Regions from separate parts of the Homo sapiens genome. Here region 2 is linked to region 1. Evidence: promoter capture Hi-C in human tissues and cell types (Jung and others, 2019). All regions are on one chromosome and are shown on one strand. Each heading gives the region's core, a stretch centred on a gene start or on the middle of the fragment in contact. The rest is flanking DNA. Distances are from core to core; before and after follow the strand shown.

What was found. The method cuts DNA at HindIII sites, captures the fragments that hold promoters and counts their contacts. A contact is called where the count stands out against the background at its distance.
Region 2: a fragment that was not itself captured here is called in contact with the fragment with the promoter of ACSBG2 in region 1 in 1 of the 25 tissues and cell types used here (stomach).

Annotation. Positions count from the first base shown.
Region 1 is chr19:6,134,140-6,137,139 of GRCh38, reverse strand. ACSBG2 (acyl-CoA synthetase bubblegum family member 2) reads right to left here and starts at 1,473. Exons shown (of 15, transcript NM_030924.5): 1 at 1,231-1,473. The region is part of intron 3 of LOC105372255 (a long non-coding RNA gene); the gene reads left to right. RefSeq lists enhancers at 703-1,605, 1,606-2,509. The HindIII fragment of the contact is 13,898 bases long and covers 1-3,000 here.
Region 2 is chr19:6,082,146-6,085,145 of GRCh38, reverse strand. All of the region lies in intron 1 of RFX2 (regulatory factor X2), which reads left to right. Among named protein-coding and RNA genes, the nearest start is that of RFX2-AS1, 21 kb to the right of the region's middle. The HindIII fragment of the contact is 5,805 bases long and covers 1-3,000 here.

The DNA of each region.
Region 1 (3,000 bases), core at 224-2,723:
TCTTTATAAATTGCCCATCTTCAGGTATTACTTTATGGCAATGCAAAATGGGCAAATAAAATTAGTATCCGGAGTATGAAAAGAACTCTGGATTTAAAAGACAAATGTAAACAACCCAGTGTTTTATGATGAAAAATGTAAACAGGCAGTTCACAAAAAAGGAGCCTGGAAAGGGCTACAAATCCTGGACAAGATGCTCAGTAGCTTTGGTCATCAGGGAACTGCACGTTAAAAATCACACGATCGGCCGGGTGCGGAGGCTCACACCTGTGATCCCAGCACTTTGGGAGGCCGTGGCAGGTGGATCACTTGAGCTCAGGAGTTCTCTACAGAGGACTTGTAAGTTACTAGTAATATTCGATTTCACGAAGTGAAAAGGGCACACAGATATTTATCGTTATTCATTAAATCGTACAGATATGCTTTGTGTTATTTTATATGCATTATATGTTTCACAATTTTAAAAGGCCATGTAGGGTTCAGATGTGGTGACTCACACCTGTAATCCCAGCACTTTGGGAGGCTGAGTCGGGTGGATCGCTTGAGGCCAGGAGTTCGAGACCAGCCTGGCTGGCATGGTGAAACCCCATCTCTACTAAAAATACAAAAATTAGCTGGGCATGGTGGCGCGTGCCTATAATCCCAGCACTTTGAGAGGTCGAGGCGGGTGGATCACCTGAGGTCAGAAGTTCAAGACCAGCCTGGCTGGTATGGCGAAACCCCATCTCTACTAAAAATATAAAAATTAGGCCGAGTATGGCGGCTCACGCCTGTAATCCCAGCACTTTGGGAGGCCAAGGCGGGTGGATCACGAGGTCAGGAGATTGAGACTATCCTGGCTAATGTGGTGAAACCCCATCTCTACTAAAAAATACAAAAAATTAGCCGGGCATGGTGGCAGGCACCTGTAGTCCCAGCTACTCAGGAGGCTGAGGCAGGAGAATGGTGTGAACCTGGGAGGCGAAGCTTGCAGTGAGCCGAGATTGCGCCTGGGCAACAGAGCAAGACTCTGTCTCAAAAAAAAAAAAAAAATTAGCTGGACATGGTGGCAGGCGCCTGTAATCTCAGCTACTTGGGAGGTTGAGGTGGGAGTATCACTTGAGCCTGGGAGGCAGAGGTTGCAGTGAGCTGAGATCGTGCCACTGCACTATAGCCTGGGCAAAAGAGTGAGACCCTGTCTCAAAAAAAAAAGAAAAGAAAACGCATGCCCTTCTCCCATACCACTGGCACCTGTCACTCTTCAAGAGGTGTGGTTCTGGCCATCTGGCAAGGCACCTGGAGCTGGGACATCTGGTCACTCAGGTGTTTTCTTCTTCCTGCAAAGACAGTCAACAGGTAGCCCCTCCTGGAAACCTGAACATGAGCTGCCCCTTCCCAGCCCCCGTCACCCTCTCCGTCCAGCCAGGATGATGGTGGTGGTGGGAGGCAGGAGGATGGGTGGTTTCCCTCCACAACAGGCCTTCTACCCCATTCAACCTTCCAGAACGTTCCATCCCAGCCACCTCTTGTGACATCACTGGCTGCCCCTGCCTCCGCACCCCACCCCCACCCCTAGGGGAAGCTGCTTCCAGGACAGGGAGATTGCTCTTTTCATGCATCATTCATTTATTCATGCATGCATGCACTTCTGCGTTGCATTCGTGACGTTTTTATGAAGCCATGACCCTAATGGCAGGGATTGTGCTGGATGCTGGAGACATAAAGATGAACAAAGCCAGATGAGGCCTGTTCAAGAAAATAAGAGGAGGCCTAGAATCACACAAACAAATGCAAACTTACCATTGTGAAGAGAGCCCCAAGGCATGTTGAGGGCTTGATCAAAGGATCCCGCCCAGGCAGGGAGTCTGGGAGTGGTTTCTTTCTTTTCTTTCGTTTTTTGAGACGGGAGTCTTGCTCTGTCACCCAGGCTGGAGTGCAATGGTGCGATCTCAGTTCACTGCAACGTCTGCCTCCCAGGTTCAAGCGATTCTCCTGCCTCAGCCTCCCGAGTAGCTGGGATTACAGGCGCCCGCCACCACGCCCGGCTAATCTTTTGTATTTTTAGTACAGACGGGGTTTCGCCATGTTGGCCAGGCTGGTCTCAAACTCCTGACCTTGTGATCCGCCCGCCTTGGCCTCCCAAAGTGCTGAGATGACAGGCGTGAGCCACCGCGCCTGGCCTGGGAGTGGTTTCTTGAGCTGGGATCTGAAGTATGCCTGGATGTTATTCCTGCCCTCGTGACTTTCTCTTACGCTGCCTGTCTTCATGTGTTTACAGCGGCCTCCCCCTTCTCGTTCTCTGCTTTAGTCACTGCTAACAATGTCCACTACCAGGCACAGTGGCTTGTGCCTGGAATCCCAGCACTTTGGGAGGCCAAGTCCGTAGCATCACTTGAGGCCAGGAGTTCAAAACCAGCCTGGGCAATGTAGTAAGACCCCGTCTCTACAGAAAAATTTAAAAAATTAGCCGGGCGTGGTGGTGCGCAAGTGTAACCACAGCTAGTAGGGAGGCTGAGGTGGGGGGATTGTTTGAGCCCAGGAGTTCCAGGCTGCAGTGAGCTGTGATGGTACCATGGCACTCCAGCCAGGCCTACAGAGCAAGACCTTGTCTCAAAACAAAAAAGACAAAACAGTGCCAGGTGCAGCACATACTAGATGCTCAGTAAATAAAGATGTAGCAACAGAATCTTGTGCTGTGCCAGGAGAAAAGGACAAGGAGTGTTCCTTTGTCTCCAGGGCCTTTTGTGTGTGTGTGTGAGAGAGAGAGAGAGACGGAGTTTGGCTCTTGTTGCCCAGACTGGAGTGCAATAGCGTGATCTTGGCTCACTGCAACCTCTGCCTCCCGGGTTCAAGCGATTCTCCTGCCTCAGCCTCCCAAGTAGCTGAGGTTACAGGCATGCACCACCACTCCCGACTAATTTTCTGTATTTTTAGTAGAGATGGGTTTTCACCATGTTGGCCAGGCTGGTCTCCACCTCGTGGCCTCAGGTGATCCACCCGCCTCAACCTTCCATGGTGCTG
Region 2 (3,000 bases), core at 351-2,850, 52 kb after region 1:
ATGATTTACAATAGCTAAAATGTGGCAGCAACTCAAGTGTCCACCAACAAATGAATGGATAAATAAAATGTGATCCATCTATACAATGGAATACTATTCAGCCTTGAAAAAGGAAGGAAATTCTGACACAGGCTGCAACATGGACATTATGCATTATGCTTAAGGACATCATGCTCAGTGAAAGAAATCAGACACAAAAGGACAAATCCAGCCGGGCGCAGTGGCTCACACCTCTAATCCCAGCACTCTGGGAGGCCAAGGTGGGTGGTGGATCACCTGAGGTCAGGAGTTTGAGACCAGCCTGGCCAACATGGTGAAACCCAGCCTCTACTAAAAATATAAAATTAGCCGGGCGTGGTGGCAGGCACCTGTAATCCCAGCTACTTGGGAGGCTGCAGCAGGAGAATCACTTGAACCCAGGAGGCAGAGGTTGCAGAGAGCCAAGATCGCACCACTGCACTCCTGCCTGGGCAACAAGAGCGAGATTCTGTCTCAAAAAAAAGAAAGAAAGAAAGAAAAAAAAGGACAAATCCAGTGTGATTCCACCCCTAGGAGGTCCCTAGAGTCATCAGATCCATAGCGACAGAAAGTAGAATGGTGGGTGCCAGGGGCTGGGGAGGGGGTAGGGAGTGAGTGTTTCATGGGGACAAAGTTTCAATTTGGGAAGATGAGAATGTTCTGGAGATGGATGGAGGTGATGGTTGCACAACAGTGTGAGTGTGCTTAATGCTACTGAACTGTATATTAAACATGGTTAAAATGGTAAATTGTACATTATGCACATTTTACCACAATTAATGATAAAGAGTAATTGACTCGTCATATTTCCCAGCATTACTTTACTAGGAGGCATATGCTTTTTATGGTTTGCCTCTAGTAAGTCCCTACGCTGTCCTGCTAAAGCAGAGGATCACAGCTTTAATAAAGACCCTAAATATTTATCTTGCCTGTGGTCATGTATAGCTGAACAATGCACAGCGAACTCATTTAGTTTCCATGCGCTTAACTGGGCTAACTCTGCTTTTGAGCCTAATGGAAAGCTTGGGGCAGGTGGAGGACCGGTTCTTTAGCACTCACAGACGATTCCCACACCACACTCCCATATCCGGTCTTCTCTGCCGAGAATTCTCCCTGCCCAAGAGGTCTGGGGTGCCCTGGACACGTGTGCTCATCTCCTGTATTTGGAGATCTGGGGCTGGGAAGAGAATGTAAAGCAACCTAAACAGTAATTTAAGAATGGAGAAAATGGGACTAAATTATTCAGACACGTTTGAGTGCCTACTCGCTAGCAGGCATTTTCCGCTGCCTATAATTATGAGTAAGACATGTTCCCCCAAAGGCCATCCAAGATAGGGGTCACAGCCTGGGCAAGATGGTGAGACCCCATCTGTACAAAAAATTAAAAAATTACCCGGGCATGGTGGCACATACCTGTGGTCTCAGCTTCTGGGGAAGCTGAGCAGGAGGATCACTTGAGCTCTGGAAGTGGAGGCTGCAGTGAGCCATGTTTGCACCACTGCACTCCAGCCTGGATGACAGAGCAAGACCCGGCCTCAGAATAAATAAATAAATGAATAAAAATTAAAAAAAAAAAAAACGGGTCAGCAGACTACATCTAGCACACTACTGTGGGTTTTTATTTTTGTTTTTAGTTTCCACGAGTTGAGAATATTTTTTGCGTTTTTAAATGATTGGAAACAAGACAAAATATTTTGTGACACATGAAAATGATATGAAATTAAATTTCAGTGTCCATAAATAAAGATTTATTGGAACAGCACCAGCACCAGGGTCAGAACTAGCATGAGGCAGTGAGGCCCTCGCCTGGGATGCAAAATTTAAGGCAGTGCCTACAAAAATCCACAGTCATCAAGATACACAATGTTTTAATGCAGTATTTTAAAAAATCAAAATAAATGCCAAAAAATTTCATGATGAAGGCCGGGCACAGTGGCTCATGCCTGTAATTCTAGCACTCTAGGAAGCCAAGGCGGGTGGATCACTTGAGGCCAGGAGTTCAAGACCAGCCTGGACAACAGGGTGAAACCCCGTCTCTACAAACAATACAAAAATTAGCTGGGGGTAGTGGCACGTGCCCGTACTCCCTGAGCCCAGGGAGGTTGAGGCTGCAGCGAGCCGTGTTTGTGCCACTGCAGCCTGGGCAACAGAATGAGACCCTGTCTCAAAAAAATAATGGGAAAAAAATTCCATGATGAGCAAAATGTTGAAATTTTACATAAAGACAGGATCAGCACTGCTGCTTCTTTTTCCTCTTTGCCCCAGGCTCTAGCATGGCTCTGAAAAGCGCTGAGTGCAGCGGCCACACTCACTCCTCCTACTGTCCAGAGGCAGAGTTGAGTAGTCTCAACAGAGACCTGCAAAGCCAAAAATGTGTATTTTCTGGCCCTTATAGAAAGTTTTCCAGTGGCTAACACCTGTAATCCCAACACTTTGGGAGGCCAAAGTGGGCGGATCCCATGAGCCCTGGAGTTCAAGACCAGTCTGGGCAACATGGCAAAACCTCATCTCTACAAAAAATACAAAAACTAGCTGAGAGTGGTGGTGCACGCCTGTGGTCCTAGCTACACGGGAGGCTGTGGTGGGAGGATGGCTTGAGCCCAGGAGTTAGAGGATGAAGTGAGCTGTGATCGCGCCACTGCACTCCAGCCTGTGTGACAGAGAAAGGCTCTGTCTCAAAGAAAAAAAGAAAACTTTCCAACCCCTGATAGACATCAATTCAGGAGAGAAGGACCCTCCTCTTACTATATTAATCCCCAGCAATGACTATAACCAAACTAGATTCAACATCTGGTCCATTTCCCCTGTCTACCATTTTTTTTTTTTTTTTTTTTGAGACAGGGTCTTACTCTGTTGCCCAGGCTGGAATGCAATGGAACGATCTCAGCTCACTGCAACCTCTGCCTCCTTGGTTCAAATGATTCTCCTGCCTCAGCCTCCCTAGTAGCCTCCCTAGTAGCTGGGATTACAGGTGTGCACCAC